6 separate regions of the Homo sapiens genome follow, and regions 1, 2, 3, 4 and 6 are each linked to region 5. Evidence: promoter capture Hi-C in 16 types of primary human blood cells and fetal thymus (Javierre and others, 2016). All regions are on one chromosome and are shown on one strand. Each heading gives the region's core, a stretch centred on a gene start or on the middle of the fragment in contact. The rest is flanking DNA. Distances are from core to core; before and after follow the strand shown. Region 1 overlaps ANO10 (anoctamin 10). Region 2 overlaps ANO10 (anoctamin 10). Region 3 holds the start of NKTR (natural killer cell triggering receptor). Region 4 overlaps ANO10 (anoctamin 10). Region 5 holds the start of POMGNT2 (protein O-linked mannose N-acetylglucosaminyltransferase 2 (beta 1,4-)). Region 6 overlaps ANO10 (anoctamin 10).

Region 1 (2,916 bases), core at 265-2,764, 410 kb before region 5:
AATAACACTTCTTTTCCTTGGACATAAGAAAAATGTAAAGTTCAGCCAACAAAGTTAACTTCACAGCAATCTTGCTTGCAAAAAATATGCCCCGTGATCTTGTAACCTACCTGTGTATCAGCATGATCCTGGCCCGAGACCATGATGATCTCTCCTGATCTCTGGTCTGCCCTCATATGAGTGAAGGGATAAGCATGGTTCTCATACTTGATGTAGAGGCTAGTTGGATGAAGCTTTTGAAAATGAGTGAACACTACCTTATAGGAGGACAAACAAGCAAACAAGTAATGGCTCCAAATGAAACCAAATGTATGAATTAGATTCCATCAAAGATCCTCTGGAATGGACATCAGAAAGTTGGACGGTGCCCCATTGCAACCAGAGGATTCTCCCCTCAGTGGCAGGATCACAAGAATAAATTTGCTTGTCCATCTTAGTTAGAGTATCTTGAGGGCATCTGTTTTGTGAATTGATATATATTCTCAATTGAAAAAGAAGTAGTGTGCTCCAGCGGTGAGTTTGTAATCTAATTGTATGTAATGTGCTCTGTGGATATGATTACAGAGACTGATGGAAGAGCTAAAGGGAAACAGAATACAGGGGATGTTATAAATAAGGCACAATGCTGTTAATTTTTAAGAAACTGCTTTCTGCAATGTCTTGAGGGATCTTGCCTACTGGGGGAACCAGCCCCTGATATTTCAACGTAGGTTCTTTTCTATTTTCCCTAAGTGTTGGCTGGTCTGAGAAATAAAGGAAAAGAGTACAAAAGAGAGAAATTTTAAAGCTGGGTGTCCGGGGGAGACATCACATGTCAGCAGGTTCCATGATGCCCCCTGAGCCGCAAAACCAGCAAGTTTTTATTATGGATTTCAAAAGGGGAGGGGTGTACGAATAGGGTGTGGGTCAGAGAGATCACATGCTTCAAGGGCAATAAAATATCACAAGGCAAATGGGGGCAGAGCGAGATCACAGGACCAGGGCGAAATTAGAATTGCTGATGAAGTTTCATGTCCCACTGGACACGCATTATCATTGATAGCATCTTATCAGGAGACAGGGTTTGAGAGCAGACAACCGGTCTGACTAAAATTTACTAGGCAGGAATTTCCTAATCCTAATAGGCCTGGGGGCACTACAGGAGACCGGGGCTTATTTCATCCCTTATCGACATATAAGACAGACATTCCTAGAGCGGCCATTTTAGAGACCTCCCCCTAGGAAAGCATTCTCTTTCTCAGGGCTGTTCCTTGCTGAGAGAAAGAATTCAGTGATATTTCTCCTATTTGCTTTTGTAAGAAGAGAAATATGACTGTTCTGTCCAGCCCCTCAGGCAGTCAGGCCCCATGGTTATCTCCCTTGTTCCCTGAAAATCGCAGCCATCCTGTTCCTTTTGGATGCCCAGATTTCATATTGTTCAAACACACATGCTCTACAAACAATTTGTGCAGATAACGCAATCATCACAGGATCCTGAGGCGACATACATCCTCAATTTACGAAGATGATGGGATTAAGAGATTAAAGACAGGCATAGGAAATTATAAGAGTGTTGATTGGGGGAGTGATAAATGTCCATGAAATCTCCACAATTTATGTTCAGAGATTGTAGTAAAGACAGGTGTAAGAAATTATAAAAGTATTAATTTGGGTAACTAATAAATGTCCATGAAATCTTCACAATTTATGTTCTTCTGTCACAGCTTCAGCAGGTCCCTCCGTTCAGGGTTCCTGACTTCCCACAACACTTGCCCAGATAGGATAGGACTGAGCTTCTGTATTATTCCCCTCACTCTGCAGCATACGTGTGTTTAAAATTCCTGCCTTTGAGTTATGTGCTTAAGCTAAATGTTGCATTTTTTCACAAAACAATCACAGAAAGACTGTAAACTGGTGCTGGACAAAGTGTGATCTGCAGACTGGTGTTAGTCCACAAAGTATTTTTTACCAGCCCACAATCAGATAAGCACAGAAATGGAAGGTGTTTACAAACTCCTAAGGCAGTTTGATGCTGCTGCAGTATTTAAGCACACAATCAGTGGGCTTATCCTGTTAACCAAGGTAAACCAATTAGGGTAGTGCTCAATTTGTATGATGATCTGCATGAGATGCAAGCTCATTTTGGTCACACGTAGTATGCATTAGTTTGCACAATAACACAGACTGGGTAGCTTAAAGAACAAAAATCCAAGCAAGGTGCCAACAGGGTAGGTTCCATTCTGAGACCTTTTTTCCTAGCTTTTAGATGGCCACCATCTTGCTATATCCTAACATGACCAATTCTTTGTGTGTACTCAAAGAGAATGAGTATGTGAGCTCACTGGTATCTCTTCATGTAAGGATGATAGTCCTATCATATCATGGCCCCACCCTTATGACCCCTTTCAACTTTAATTACCTTCTTGTAGGCCCTGTCTCCAAATACAGCCACATTGGGGGTTACAGCTTTAACATGAATTTGTTGAGGGCAAGGGGGCATTCAGTCCATAGGACAGTAGGACCATAATGGACTGGGAATTTAAAAATTGGTCCTTCACCTCAGATAGTTCAAGCAGCACTGTAGGTATAATTAAGCTAAACACAACTGGATATTACTAATATAAAAACTAGAAAAAATTTGCTTTAGGTTACAAATGTTTGAATATTTATCAAATTCATATAATCTTGACATTCAATAAAATTGTTTTGTGTAAAACATTGAATGTTTACAAGAGATTAGATTATAAAAACTTGATTGGATACTGAAAAAAATGTACTGATTAGTTAATTCCTACAGAGGCCTGGGCTTAAGCTTGATGTAATTACAGCATGGTAGCTGTTCTTATAGCATAGCTCTCCTGCCTGTGCAGCCGACTCATAAATCTATGCATCTCCCTGCTGGCCCTGGCCTTCTGGCTTCCTGAAGACATGTCCCCA
Region 2 (3,052 bases), core at 507-3,006, 430 kb before region 5:
CAGTTCTTGTCTATGAAGCACCTGCCCCTGTGTGTGTAGACAGCAGGCCGTTCTCCATCCTGCATCCCCCTCTGCATCTAGCCTCTCCTGTCTCTGGTCCAACCACCCTCAAGTCCAAAAGACCAGCTGGAGTCTGCCTCAGCTTCTCCTCTTGATTGTTCTCAAATCCACCTCATTTTTTCCGTTTCTTCAGTCCTGTGGGTTAGATCCCAGTTCTTTATGCCTGCCATCGTTACAGTTTTTTTCTTCTGCCAGAATTACAAAGCTGCCATAGTAATTGTTGTTAAAAAAACCTGTTCTTTAAGGTATCCTTCTGTATTTTCACATAACTTGTTTTATTTCCGTTTTAAAAATTTTTTCTGAATTTCTAGTCAGTGCTGGAGATACAAAGAAAATAAATTCACCCTTCTTTTGGAAGAGCTGGACTCACAAGCAAGATCATTTCAGTACAGTTTTTGATACCTCTTTTCTTATTTTTTTTCCTCAGTTAAAATGCTGTTCTTAAATTCATATTTGTCAATGTGTAGACCCTGTTCAATAACCCATTTCTTTAGGAATGGTTTCCCACATTAACAATACCCCAAACTCAAAATGCTGTGTTAGTATGCTACGTCAAATTTCACTTTTAGAAACACTTAGCTGTTTTTTTTATACTGAAATTTTATATCAAAAATAGGGCCAGGTCTAACTATCATTTTTTAGTATCATAGACATTTATGTATTTTGGGTTTGGTGAAATGGTATAAATTTGACCAGATCTTAATGTTTCTAGTTATTTTGATATGTTGTATTTGTTCTTATGTCTTGTTACTTCTGTCCCCCCACCCTTTTTAGTCTGTAGCTTAAAAGCTTCAGAGGGTCTTTAGTTTCTTTTGTAGTCCTCCAGGGTGCCATGTGGCTAAGACTGGATTAAATTAGAAACTATGTGACGGTGGTTTGTGGACTCCAGGGTGCTTACAGATGTAAGATGTTAATACTACTACTATAATTTCCTCCTAACTAATAAAATGTGTTCCCAGTCCCATTATGTTATGTTACTGAAATCGACTATTTCTAAGGATATTAAGAACAATGAACAGAAAAGAAAGGTTTTTGAATATTGGTTACTTTCTAAGAAAATTTCTTCCTATCTGACGTATATTAGTTACGTGTGTGTGTGTGTGTGTGTGTGTGTGTGTGTGTGTGTGTGGTTTATAAAGTATGCCTGCTCTGAGCCTGAGATCATGGTTCTGCTCTGGTGGATGGAGCAGGAGGTGGAAGGTGAGCTGCAGAATGTAAAGATATGGTTGCCCCCAAGCTGTCATCATTGGGCCCCAGCTGTGACCATTTTTAGGAAGCTTGTAATGCTTCTATTATCCTTTCCATTTCAGCACTTCACACAGAACTAATTGGCACCATCTGTGCTAATAATTAAGCCTGTGATGTGGTCACTGGTGCACAAGGAACTCAGGTTGAGGGAATATTTCACAGCAAAAAGGAGGTGGGATATGAGTAGAAAGAATACAGTTTGTTGATATTCTTTTATGCTGGAAAAGGAAACCCAAGGAAAGAGGAGCTCTCTGATAGACCAATGATATTCTTCCACAGCCTATAAGCCTCTTACCCACTGAGTGTGTAGGAAGGACATATGAGCAAGATGACAGGTAGAGCTCTTGGCATTGTCTTCTCTTTGCTATTAAATTTGTCCCGGAGATTGCTGTAATATACATCTAGTCTACGTTTGGACATTAAAACTTAACCGAGGATGGTTGCCAAGGACTCAGAGTAAGGTGAAAGGTGAGGGCTTTTTTTTTTTTTTTTTTTTTGAGTGATGAAATTGTTCTGTATCTTGATTATGGTGATGGTTTCACAGCTGGGTGCATTTATTAAAACTGAAAGTGCTATACACCAAGATGAGTGATTTTCTATTTAAGTTAAAAGGTAAATTTTAAAATGTATAAAAACTTGTTGAAAAAATGCTTTAGAAAATCTTTTGTGGCTTAGGACATGTTTACAAGATGAAAAAAGTAGATTTTTTTTCTTTTTCAAAATTAAGAACAAGGCAACCGAAAACCAGTTAATCTAAAATTTGATTTTATATAGTAAATGGCTCCTTTCAAACACCAAATAAGATTTTATAATTGAATTTTTAGGCATATTGCTGAAAGGAACAAAAGAAGAGGGCTTTTAAGCTTTTCTTTCTTTGAGCCCCAGAACTCCATTTTACCATTAAAGGAGCTGCTCATCTTGAGTATTGTTTTGCTGATGAGAGGAAATTAATGAGGTGAGGCATCATTCTCATACATTTGAGAATTCACTGATCAAACTTAAGAACAAAAATGATCTATTGTTTTATGTTTTAACACTCTTTCAAAATGTAGGTCATGTCCATAAATGCAAATGACTATGTAGAAAGTAATATGCTACTGCTGCTAACCGTTTTGAGGGCACAGGGTATTCATGTGCTTCTAGAATCATCAGGATTTGCAGAAGGGCAATAGGAAGTGGCACACTGGGAGTGATTGAGAATTCTAGTGCTCTAATGAGTGAGGGATCACAGTTGATATCAGTGGAATCATTAATAAATATAAAGTTTGTATTTGGTACTTTTTAAAGAAATAATTTCAAATTGAAAGAAGCATTTTAAACAACTTGGAATGTTACATTTACTTTTGTGTTTTACTTTTATCAGGAATGTTTAAATAATCTACAAAGTATCCTAAGCCAAGAAACTTTTTAAGAGTTTAAGCTGAAGAAGCGTTTTTAAAATACAAAAGACTAATAAGTATGTGATTATGGTCCAAGTGAAAGTTAATTTGTCAATTGGATAACAAACATTTGTCAGTACTTATCTTATAGTTTTTATGCTTTAAAATGAGGGACAACAGACTTTCAAAACTAGGGTGCCAAGTCCTGCTTATTCATTCCTCTTCAGGAGAGTTTTATAATCTTTAAAGTCTTTGGGAAGACTTAAAGAGACTTAATCTTTAAAGCCTTTATCAACTGATATCATAGTTACTAGTTTACACAGTAGCTGAGATTAATGGAATTTGGATTTTCAGGATTTTTCTCC
Region 3 (2,700 bases), core at 79-2,578, 510 kb after region 5:
TTCTCAAAATGGCCTTGTCTGACCAACTTATTAAAATAGTATCCCAACTACAAGTCACTGTTATTTTTTTCCTAGTTGTCCGTCTTCCCCCCAATAGAATATAAACTATAAAAGGAAGAGGCCTTTGTTTTATGCGCTGCTCTATCTCCAGACCCTAGAACAGTAGCAGGCTCTCATAAGAATATGCAGAACAAGATGTTGCACAAAGACAACACATATATATATGTCTCCAATTAAAACTTTTGTCACGGATAACAAAAAAAGCTAAGAAAACAGTTTGAAACCCTGCACGCTCTGCTACTTAGAATGAAATAACTATGCTTTAGAAGGAAATGTTTCATTTAAAAAAAATACACTAACAAATGTCTGGATTCCCTAAAGACAAACATTAATGCTAAGTGCATGCATGCTGCAATTCTGCTGGTACAAAATGCTCTGGTTTATCACAAAAGATCTTCACTAAGCCATTTTCCCAGGAACCACGAAATTCTAGCTAAAGATTCTTAAGGAAAAATAGAGGCAAAATTAACATATTAGTGATATATCGTGATTAGGAAACACACAATATTTCCTACTAGTTGAAACTTCATAGCACCAAGCAAGATAACCGGAAATCGGATCGGGAGTGTCTGCCTCACGGAGACACTGGGAGAGAAAAAGTCCTCAAAGAACTGCACCTCCTTTTCTTGGCGCCAGGCTGGCTACGAGGACTCAGTCCGGAGATGCAGCGGGGTGTGTGGGGTTTGGCAGGAAGAGGCCCGGACTGCGAGTTAGGGGTGTGCCCAGGCCACCTTCCTCTCCCACTGATTTTCTCTCAAGAGAAAACGGAAAGTTGCCTGCGCCTCCTACCCGCTCCCAAAAAGGCCGGGGGAGGGTTGCTGAGGGTAGACCCCTCCCCTTCGCCAAGGCAGGCCTCGGCCCCAGCAGCGCTCCCCAGTTTCCAGCTCACCCGGCTCCCGGTTGATCTCGATGTCGAAGTGGCACTGCGGCCGGTCCTGCGCCCCCATCGCGACCGAGGTGGCGGCAAGAGCTGGGAGAGAGGGGGAGAAAAGCGGTCAGGGCAGGGGCGAGGGCGGGGGCGAGGGCAGGGGCGAGGGCGGGGCTGAGACGAAGTCCGCGCCACGGTGCCTCACGCCGGCCCGTCGCGACAGCGCAGGAGGCCAAGACGAGGCCCCCTCCCGCCCCGGGCCTCGCGGCTCCCACGCAGCGCGCACGCATGCGGGCGAGCTCTTCACCTGGCTGGCCTCCAGCCTGAGCGGGTCCCCGTGAGCAGAAGAGAAAGCACTGCCACTGCAGCCAAACCCCAACGCCGCTAACGGAACGCCGTCTCCTCCCCCAGGCCGGGCCTCCCAATGCCACGCTAAACCCCGCGAGAGTCGGGACAAATACCGCGAGAGTACAGTCTAGATGGGGGTGGTCAACCGAAGGTGGCGGCAGCGGGGGCGTACGCACGGGGGCGTACGCACGGGGGCGTGTCTGGGGAGCTCTCGAGGAGCCTCCAGCCAGCGCTCCTATACCTGCGCGTTCCCTGTTTGCCCCCCCCTTTGAAGTCAGTCGCCCAATCTGAAAGCCGTGGATGCGCCTGCGCCCTCCATCTCGTCAGGTGTGGCTGTGAGCGCCGCGCATTTTCCGATACCGCGAGACTTCTCTGTTTCCGAGCGCTGTGAAGGAACTGAGTGAATTGAGGCTTTGAGTTTTCGTTAGCCAAGACGTTGTGTTGCTCTGTGTTCTTTTTGGCCGGGAGTGGTTATGTCCGTGTCCTACTGTTAGGTCTTTTAGGCTGAAGAATGCGTTCCTTCCCGCTTTGGCACCAGCGTCACTGGCACCGTTTTTGTCCTGTGCTTACTGACCATTCTGCATCTTTTGTGAAGTTTCAGTTCCAGTCTTCTGCCCGTTTTTAAATCTGGTCCTTCGTGTTTAACAGTTCTGGATACAAATGTTTTGTTAGATATATGTATGCTCTGAATGAAAATCTTTTGTTACATAAATGATTGCGAAGTCTTTTTCCCAATCTGGGCCTGTCGTTTCATTGTTTTGACGTTTTTGGCAAAGAAGTTTTTAATTCTGATTAAGTCAATTGGTCAGTTTTATATTTTAATGGTTTGTGCTTTTCCTGTGCTAGGAAATCTCTGCCTACCTCAAGTTCTTGAAGATATTCTGTGTTCTCATATATGTTTTACATAGTCTTTAACGTGTAAGTCTATGATATGATCTAATATCATTAATTTTTGCTTATGTTGTCAAGTAAGTGTCAACATTTTCCTATTGGGATATACAGTCGTTCCATTACCGTTTGTTGAAAAGACTCTTTTTTTTTTTTTTGAGACGGAGTCTCGCTCTGTCGCCCAGGCTGGAGTGCAGTGGCGGGATCTCGGCTCACTGCAAGCTCCGCCTCCCGGGTTCACGCCATTCTCCTGCCTCAGCCTCCCAAGTAGCTGGGACTACAGGCGCCCGCCACTACGCCCGGCTAATTTTTTGTATTTTTAGTAGAGACGGGGTTTCACCGTTTTAGCCGGGATGGTCTCGATCTCCTGACCTCGTGATCCGCCCGCCTCGGCCTCCCAAAGTGCTGGGATTACAGGCGTGAGCCACCGCGCCCGGCCTGAAAAGACTCTTATACATTGAATTACCTTCGCCTTGTGACCATATATGTGTGGGTCTGTTTCTGGATTTTTGTTCCAATGATCTGTGTCTGAGTAC
Region 4 (2,700 bases), core at 128-2,627, 390 kb before region 5:
AAAGCTTATGGAGTCTTTCTAAACCTTCTAAGATTATGCCAACCCAATTCAGAGTATATACACTGATAAAGTAAGATATTTATTAGGATAATTTCTGTAATGGTTGTGTTTGTGCACTAAAGTGTCACTCAGGGTTGAAAAGGCAAATCGTGATTTCAGTCAATTACATTCAAGACTGGTTTTACTTTTAATACCTGCAGAGTTATAGCTTAGGACAGAAGCTTAAGAGATCATACCACCACATTTCACTGAGCCTAAGGTTAACTTCTCCCACATTTTAGTACCTCTGAAATTGAATGTATTTTACAGTGGATATCAGGGAGCTGCCATCGTCAACATGTGGACAAATTTGAATGTCAACACTGGGCCATTTCTGGTAGTGTGATTTGGCAACAGCAACTCCTCATGGTTTCAGTCAGTATAGAAAATGAATTCTGGGTGGGGCTATAAACCTTTCATTGACCCCTTTTGATAAGATCAGAAAAAGCACCAGCATGGAAGCTTGCAAATGGATGCCAGCTGCTTGGAAGGAAATCCTGGATAGAGTGGTGAAGCACTGTTTTAAGGACTGCTGCATCACCCACACTGCTGAGGCCACATAAGAGGATTTTGTATTGGAAAATTTGTGCATTGTCAACTCTGAGATAAAACTTGATTTAGAAGTCTTGGACTCTGAATGTTTAAAAGATCTAGTAGTACATGGGGCTGGGCGCAGTGGCTCACGCCTCTAATCCCAGCACTTTGGGAGGCCGGGCAGGTGGATCACCTGTGGTCAGGAGTTCAAGAGCAGCCCGGCCAACATGACGAAACCCTGTCTCTACTAAAAATACCAAAAACAAAAAACAAAAAAACAGCTAGGTGTGGTGGCATGCACCTGTAGTCCCAGCTACTCAGGAGGCTGAGACAGGAGAATCGCTTGAACCCAGGAGGCGGAGGTTGCAGTGAGCCGAGGTCACGCCACTGCACTCCAGCATGGGCGATAGAGTGAGTGAGACTCTGTCTCAAAAAAAAAAAAAAATCTAGTAGTACATTAACAAGCCTATATTTTGCTTATATTTTGTAGGTAGCACAGGAGTGATTATTAAAAAAAAATCTATCTAAAGAAGTTTTAAAAAGAGCCCTTCAAATTAGAATTCTAGGTAATAAGAACACTTTCTTTAATTATTTAATTGGCAGTATTTTTTTTTCTTGGTGGTATATGGGAGAATGGTGTGTCTTACGGTGTCTTACAGTTTTTGGTATCCTAGATTGTTGAAAGAATAATAGTGGGAAGTGTGGTTTGCCTGCATTTCTGAACTTCCTCTCTAGCACCCAGTTTTTGTACTGCTGCTGATCCTGGCTTCTGTGCCTTGCAAATGCCCTCTTCCCCTGCTCAATGCTCCTCCTGTCAGCCTACTTCCTATACTTCCTTTGATGCTCAATCTAAGACAGACTTCCTCTGCCAAACCCTCCCTAGTAAATACTTCCCCATCTAGAGCATTCAGTGTACTTCTATGGAGGTATATCATTTGAACTATACACTTGACTGTACATGGCTGTGGAAATGTTTTATATTTGTTTCATGACTGGGTTCCTCAACTGTAAAAGATTGTAAACTCTTTGTGATAGGGTCTCTGTACCCTATCACAAGTATCGTTTGATAAATACTTGCCGAGTTTATTTTCACTCTGCATTTGCCTGTGCCATTGTTAGAAATTTGAAGACACGTGAAAAACAAGGACAAACAGGGACAAACTGCCCCTCTCTCTAGTGGTTTCTCTACATGAGCCCTGGAACTGTGGTGGAGAAGGCTCAATGTAATCCCCAGGTTTTGGTGTGATTTTTAGCTTCTTCCTCAGTACTCACCACCACCTCAGGTAGTCGGGTCTGGGGACTTACCCCCAGTGCCCAAGCACCACAGCCTCAAGACTGTCGCATTGCAGAACCATTTGACAATGAACGATCATATATGTGTGTTTACCTTATATGCATATAGCAAGGATTAAATTATTTTATAGCACTGAGTACAAGAAATGTTATATCTTATTTTTCTGATTTTTATTCCCCTCTTACCCTACCTGCTGAAAAGGACAGTCCCATTCATATTTTGACTGCTCTTTGCTTCTCCCTGGGGATGCGCAAGAATAAGAGGGAGGATTATATTTTTTGAAAAACAAAGGACAGCATCAGTAAATCTCAGCTATAGTAAGCTGCATAGTCCAGACTACAAAGTAGAGGGAAGGGAATGGCTGGGTTTCCTCTGTGCTAAGCTTTGGACTTGGGATCTTTTAGGCAGGCTTTGAAAGCCACGGGAGGTGGTGTTTATTCCCTACTCTTCCCTCCATATGCCATCCCATCAGAGTTTCTGTTACTTTCTAGGACATGCTGGGGGCAGGTCTCTCCTATTGACACAATTGGTAGGTAACACTGCCATCAGGGATTGTCCTCCCAGGTTAGGTCACATCTGCCCTACTACACAGTTCTTCCCTCAATCAGCTGGATTTTGCAGGGGTGGAGGGCAGTTGGCTTGCCCGCTGAGTACCACCCATCTTCTGGGGAGGCATTAGAAATATCCAAGGTCAGAACAGCCAGTGGCTTCCCAAGAAGTGGGCAGGAAAACTCCCACTGTCTCCTTGCTGTACCTGCCAACAGCCAGTCAGTGGCCAAACCAAGCATCAAGTCTTATCCTGCTGCACATACACACTTTGTAGTGCAGAACAA
Region 5 (2,877 bases), core at 337-2,836:
TTCACTGCAACCTCCGCCTCCTGGGTTCAAGTGATTCTCCCCTGCCTCAGCCTCCTGAGTAGCCGGGTTTACAGACGCGCACCAACACATCCAGCTAATTTTTGTATTTTTAGTAGAGACGAGGTTTCACCATGTTGGCCAGGCTGGTCTTGAACTCCTGACCTCGTGATTCGCCAGCCATGGCCTCCCAAAGTGCTGGCATTACAGGCATGAGCCACCGCGCCCTGCCTTTTTAAGCTGTTTTAAATAGGTGTATGGTGATATCTCAGCATAGTCTTAATTTGCATTTCCTTTATGGCTAGTGATGAACATCTGTCCTTATTTGCCATCTGTATAACTACTTTGGTAAAATATATATTAATGTCTTCTGTATATTTAAAAACTTATGATCCAGGATACAGTTTATCTTAATATATATACCAAGGTTGCTTGAAAAGAATGTGTATTCTGTTGGTGGGTGAAGTATTATGTAAATATCAATTAGATTAGGATGGTATTAGTGTTGATCTTTTCTATATCCTTGCTGACTTTCTGTCTAGTGTTCTATCAGTTGTTGAGAGAGGGATGCTGAAGTTTCCAATTACAGTTGCAGAGTTGTCTATTTCTAATTATGGTTCTATCATTTGATTTATTTATGTTAAGGCTATGTCGTTAGGTGTATCCACATTTAGAATTATGTCTTCTTGGTGAATTGAACCTTTTATCATTATATAATTATCCCTTTTTTATTCTTGGTAATTTTCCTTGCTGTCAATTCTACTCTCTCTGAAAGTAATATCACCACTTCAGCCTTTCAGTTTATTATCATCTAAACAACACTATTCAGCCTTTGCAGTCATCCACAATTATTAGAATTTCTTGGTTAGAGGCTTTTGACTACATGTTTTTAAAGGTTTTTGGCTGTATTGACAAATTGCCCTGCAAAAATTTACCAACTTAATACCTTAACATTTGGGCTAATTTAAAATAATCATAAATTAAAGTCAGGGCTTTCCCAATTTGATAGGTAGAAATCTTATAACTCTATGGAGGTGGAGTTGGTGGTGGTAGGTGCATCTCTAGATGACTTAAGTTCAAAAAAAGTCAAGAGATCTAAAAAAGAAGTCAAAAGATCTAAAATTCATAACTCAAGAAATAGGGGCATATGTATATTCGGAGAATCCGCGGGAATGCCAGATGCCACAGCCATAAGTAGCTGCCCTTGAGGACTGGACAGCCAGGACTGGACGGTGGGATAAGGTGACAGCTGGTTAATGGAATGGTGCCGCAGAGGACTGGTGCTTTTGTAAGTTCTCTGTAGCATTACAATTTTTAAAAGCATGTAAACGTATTAATTACCTTGACTTTACAATGACATTTGGTTGTTGGTTAAACTTGCATTTAAATTTATTATCAGAACTGCCATAACTGTGTAATCCTAACACTAAGTAAAACTCAGCCTCTCGGCGCAAATTATCACTCCCAACATTCCGCAGGCTGGTGGCGGCGCGGGCTGTCCTCGTACGCAAAACTACACCTCCCAGGATTCCGCGAGCCAAGGTTGTGGCCGGGGCCAGGGCAACCGAACTCGCGGCTCTGCGCAGGCGCACAGGCTCCGCGCCGGGCTCGCCCGCCGGGCAGGCGCACGGCGGACACCTGCGAGCCTGGAGGTGGCGGTCGCTGCGAACCCGGCGGCGCGGCCAAACCTGTGCTGGCTGCCTGGGCCTTCTGGGCCTCCTGGGCCAGAAGCTGGCGCTGGGGGCGGCGGCGGGGTGGGAAAGCGGCGCCGCCGTGGGGCCTCCTGGACGCGTCGGCGGAGGTGGCTTCGTCCCGCGGAGTCCAGGCTTCAGGTAAGACGCGCGCGCGCTTGGGGCTGGAGCGGACTCCGACACCCGCCTGGGACTTGAAGTGGAGGTGTCGAACCCTCGGCCCCCTGGAGGGGACGACGCGGTGCTGGGCCCCGGGGTGAGGGGGAGGTTCTAGGACGCCTTCGGGATCCAGGAGAGTTTGCAGAACTGAGGGGTGACGTGTGAAGCGAGCTGAGGGAGGCGCGGGAGGTGGGCGGGGCGGGGGTGGACCCTCAGGGTCGGGGGCCGGGGATTGGGGGTCGGGGGCCGGGGGCCGGGGACCTGGGCAACGCCCTGGGGCTTGCCAGTTCGAGCCCTCAGCTCGTGGCAGGCACTGGCGTCGGGTCCTCAGGCCCTTTTGCTTTGGGAGGTGATGGGTGGTGCACATTTGGCGGGGGTGGTGGGGAGCCACGCGAGGTGCGCGGAGCGGGCCTGGGCCTCCCCAACTGCCTTTGAAGGCAGAACCCCGGCAGGCCTGCAGCTGATTCCTGGGCGCTTTGGGGGCCAGTAGGGCACCTACCATGTGTGTCCGGTGGTAAGAGCTTGCCACGGCCTGCTTGGCAGTGCCAGAGTAGCCTCTGAAGAAGGAACCCAGTGAACTCCTGACTCCATGTGTGTGTTTAGGAACCCGTCTCCAGCTCACTGATGGGAACTCTCTGCTAAAGTATGTGACCGTCAGGCCAGAGTCTTGCACCAGGTGCAGGGCGACCAGTGTCTGCCTACTTTATTGCCAGCCAACACTTAGAGCGTACTCTTGGGAGAAGCAAGGCTCCGCGTGGAAAAGGATGACTTCAGGGTTATGGGGCGAGCTTGATAGGACTTAGTAGCTAAGAGCATAGACAGAGGAGGTTTCATTCACCAAATGTTTACTACAATATGTGCCCCGCCTTCAAATCTTGGTTCTCGGCTACTAGCGGTGTGCGTTTAAGCAAGTCACTTATCCTCTCTTAGCCTCTGTTTCTTTCTCTGTGAAGTGGAGATGAAAGTACAGTGCCTTTATCACGGGGTTGCAGTGGGGATGAAATAGTGCCAGGCAAGTCCTCAGCCCAGT
Region 6 (2,956 bases), core at 125-2,624, 290 kb before region 5:
TCATACCTGTAATCCCAGCACTTTGGGAGGCTGAGGCGGGTGGATCACGAGGTCAGGAGATCGAGACCATCTGGCTAACATGGTGAAACCCCGTCTCTACTAAAAATACAAAAAATTAGCCGGGTGTGGTGGCAGGCGCCTGTAGTCCCAGCTACTTGGGAGGCTGAGGCAGGAGAATGGCATGAACTTGGGAGGCGGAGGTTGCAGTGAGCCAAGATTGCGCCACTGCACTCCAGCCTGGGCGACAGAGCGAGACTCCATCTCAAAAAAAAAACCTTATCAAACGTGAAGCGAAGAAAGAAAAAATAATTGTAAAAATGAAAAGAGCTTTAGTGAACTATGGGACATCATCCAGCAATTGGGAATTTCCTCAACCTGATGAAGGGCATCTATGAAAAGTCTAAAACTGGTGTCATACTTAGTGATGAAAGACTGAATGCTTTCCCCTTGGTATAAGGAACAATAAAAGGGTGTCTATTCCTACCACTTCTTTTCAACATTATGCCGAATGTTCTGGCCAGCGCCATCAAGCAAAAAAAAAAAATAAATAAATAAATTAATAAAAGGCATTCAGAATAGAAAGGAAGAAGTAAAAAACTGTCTACTCACAAATGACATGATCATCTGCACAGAAAATCTGATGGATCTGCAGAAACTAGAAGTCGTCATTTGCAGGTTGTCTGTGGCTGCTTTTGCACCCCAGTGGGAAAGTTGAGTCATTGTGACAGAGACTATATGGCCCAAAAGCCTCAAATATTTACGTCCAGCCTTTTAATAATATTTTGCCAACCCCTGTTCTATAGATTCAGTATAATCCCAATAAGAATCTAAGTAGGCTTTTTTTTTTTTGTAGAAGTTGATGAACTTGCTTCTAAAATTCATATGGAAATGCAAAGGACCTAGAATAGCCAAAGCTTTTAAAAAGAAGAACACAATTGGAAGACTACTTGATTTCAAAGCTTATTATACAGGGGGGAATAGTGTAGATTAACGGAGCAGAATAGAGTTCGGTGATAACCTCACACATGTATGTACTACTGATTTTTGACAAAAGTGCAAAGACCATGCAGTAGAGAATAGTCTTTTCAATAAACGGTTCTGGAACAATTGGATATTCATGTGCAAAAAAATGAACATGGACCCATACATCATACCAAAATGGATTATAGACGTAGATGTAAAATCTAAAATTCTAAATCTTCCAGAAAAAAAGATAAAATATTTGAGATCTTACATTAAAATATTTGAGACCTTACATTAGGCAAAGATTTCTCAGCTACAATTCCTAAAGTATGATCCATAAACGTATGATCCACAAATCGATAAATGACACTTCATCAAAATTTAAAACTTCTGCCCTTCCAAATCTTGTCATCTATATAATGAGAAAGCTAAAAGAAAAGCAGGAGAATCTGCTAGAAAACTTTCCTAGGGTCCTCTGATTGTTAAAAAACTGATAATTACCCTGATAATTACCTGATAATAACATTGATTATTACCATCTCTGGGCTGGAGATGAACTGTATTAGAGAATTCAGCTACCCACCCTCTTCCCTCTCACCTCAGTCCCCCTTACCTTGTACCCTTTCTTCACTAGGAGAAAAAGCCAAGCAGCAAAAGAGTCCAGCAAAATCATAGTTTCCTAAAATAAGAAAACTTTTTACGAAAAGCCACATAAGAGTGGACCTCTCTTGAATACCAGAAGATATGGAAATTTAGGCAATTGGGAAGAAAAGTGGTTTGGAGCCAAGCAGCACTCCTAGATTTTTACCCTAAGACCTAAGCTTATTAGTGGTAGGACCTTGCCCATGTCAGTTACTACATCTGTAAATGGGAACACTGTGAGAATTAGAGATCAGGGCTTCAAAGTGCACCCCCACCCCTCCACCCGGGGCAGCTCAAGGTGGCCTTCTCTTAACCACTGTTGCGTTTTTCAGTTGTGCCAAGATAGGCTGCTTAGGTTTCTTCACTACCATGGGAAATGATTCTGTAAAATGGGAAAACTAAATGCAAGTGTAAGGGCGTTGTTGTTGTCGTTTTCACTGTTTCCTATAAATTCTACATCTTCTTACTGGAAGAGAAGATCTAGGCTCTAACTCTTTAGAGGAGATTAAACATTCCTGTGCAGGATGGAAAAAATTCAGGAAGGGAGCCAGGAAAACAAATATCCTGAAGAGGCTTAGGGTCAAGAGGTGAGGGTGGGAGAATTTGACACAAGGGAAAAAGAAAAATGCAGAGCTACTGGTGGTATATTTATGACAGGAAGGTTTTCCCATAGAGGATAGAGCTGGACTTTTCAAGGGGTGGCTGCCTGCCAGGCCTTAGTACAAGAAGAAGAGATCATAGGCAGGTCACAGGAAATGTGCTGCTGACCATGAGAGGTGGTGATGCCTGGGGGTAGGGACCAGAGGGGGACAACGTCTAAGGCCCCTCTTCCAGGGAGGCCAAACAGGAAGGATGTTGTCTCATTAGCACGGATTTCCAAGATGTGAAAGCATATCTACCAACACTTATCAGGCCTACCAGCCACCCTAAACTTCCCCCAATTCTCATGCAAATGAAGTGACAGAAAAAAAAAGTTATGATACCCTGTGAGTGTTCACAGCCTTTTCCCACCCCCAGGGGTGTTCATTCTCTCCTAGCTCAGTTCCTAGGCTTATGTATAGGGCAGAAAAATTAGGGGCTGGGCAGCAGGTAGAGGGGGTCTTGAGGTGCCATTGTCTTGCTCTGGAAAAGGCCAAGATCTGGAAATGGAGGGGTTAGGGGTAGAGAGAGAGACCAAAGTCTCTGAGCATTGGAGGAGGAGATTGGAAAGGGGAACCTTCATGGTGTAGGTAACAGGAGGGTTTTGCTTGCTTGCTTCCCAACATCACCTTTTGTAACATCCCAGAGTTACAAAAGGCAATGTTGAAAACTGGGAAAAGAATAAAAAAGAAATGAAAATATGTGCCCATGG

The links. Contacts are between HindIII fragments. The CHiCAGO score rates a contact against its expected background, and 5 or more counts as called.
Region 1: a contact is called between a fragment that was not itself captured here and the fragment with the promoter of POMGNT2 in region 5, in 3 of 17 cell types (total CD8 T cells, total CD4 T cells and non-activated CD4 T cells). The highest score is 6.9, in total CD8 T cells.
Region 2: a fragment that was not itself captured here is called in contact with the fragment with the promoter of POMGNT2 in region 5 in 1 of 17 cell types (total CD8 T cells); the score reaches 5.9 in total CD8 T cells.
Region 3: a contact is called between the fragment with the promoter of NKTR here and the fragment with the promoter of POMGNT2 in region 5, in 7 of 17 cell types (non-activated CD4 T cells, total CD4 T cells, activated CD4 T cells and 4 more). The highest score is 9.7, in non-activated CD4 T cells.
Region 4: a fragment that was not itself captured here is called in contact with the fragment with the promoter of POMGNT2 in region 5 in 4 of 17 cell types (activated CD4 T cells, non-activated CD4 T cells, naive CD4 T cells and 1 more); the score reaches 5.7 in activated CD4 T cells.
Region 6: a contact is called between a fragment that was not itself captured here and the fragment with the promoter of POMGNT2 in region 5, in 2 of 17 cell types (fetal thymus and non-activated CD4 T cells). The highest score is 6.2, in fetal thymus.

The regions. Positions count from the first base shown.
Region 1 is chr3:43,516,952-43,519,867 of GRCh38, reverse strand. All of the region lies in intron 11 of ANO10 (anoctamin 10), which reads left to right. Among named protein-coding and RNA genes, the nearest start is that of ANO10, 100 kb to the left of the region's middle. The HindIII fragment of the contact is 2,558 bases long and covers 236-2,793 here.
Region 2 is chr3:43,535,749-43,538,800 of GRCh38, reverse strand. All of the region lies in intron 11 of ANO10 (anoctamin 10), which reads left to right. Among named protein-coding and RNA genes, the nearest start is that of ANO10, 85 kb to the left of the region's middle. RefSeq lists an enhancer at 1,721-2,655. The HindIII fragment of the contact is 834 bases long and covers 1,340-2,173 here.
Region 3 is chr3:42,599,314-42,602,013 of GRCh38, reverse strand. It overlaps NKTR (natural killer cell triggering receptor), which reads right to left and starts at 1,328. Exons shown (of 17, transcript NM_005385.4): 1 at 1,236-1,328; 2 at 950-1,030. The coding sequence starts at 1,007. It also overlaps a transcript of SEC22C not described here. RefSeq lists a silencer at 1,025-1,234. The HindIII fragment of the contact is 13,164 bases long and covers 1-2,700 here.
Region 4 is chr3:43,498,149-43,500,848 of GRCh38, reverse strand. All of the region lies in intron 11 of ANO10 (anoctamin 10), which reads left to right. Among named protein-coding and RNA genes, the nearest start is that of ANO10, 120 kb to the left of the region's middle. The HindIII fragment of the contact is 1,748 bases long and covers 504-2,251 here.
Region 5 is chr3:43,104,788-43,107,664 of GRCh38, reverse strand. POMGNT2 (protein O-linked mannose N-acetylglucosaminyltransferase 2 (beta 1,4-)) reads left to right here and starts at 1,586. Exons shown (of 2, transcript NM_032806.6): 1 at 1,586-1,829. RefSeq lists a silencer at 1,499-1,818. The HindIII fragment of the contact is 5,763 bases long and covers 1-2,877 here.
Region 6 is chr3:43,393,665-43,396,620 of GRCh38, reverse strand. The region is part of intron 12 of ANO10 (anoctamin 10); the gene reads left to right. Among named protein-coding and RNA genes, the nearest start is that of SNRK-AS1, 43 kb to the right of the region's middle. The HindIII fragment of the contact is 825 bases long and covers 962-1,786 here.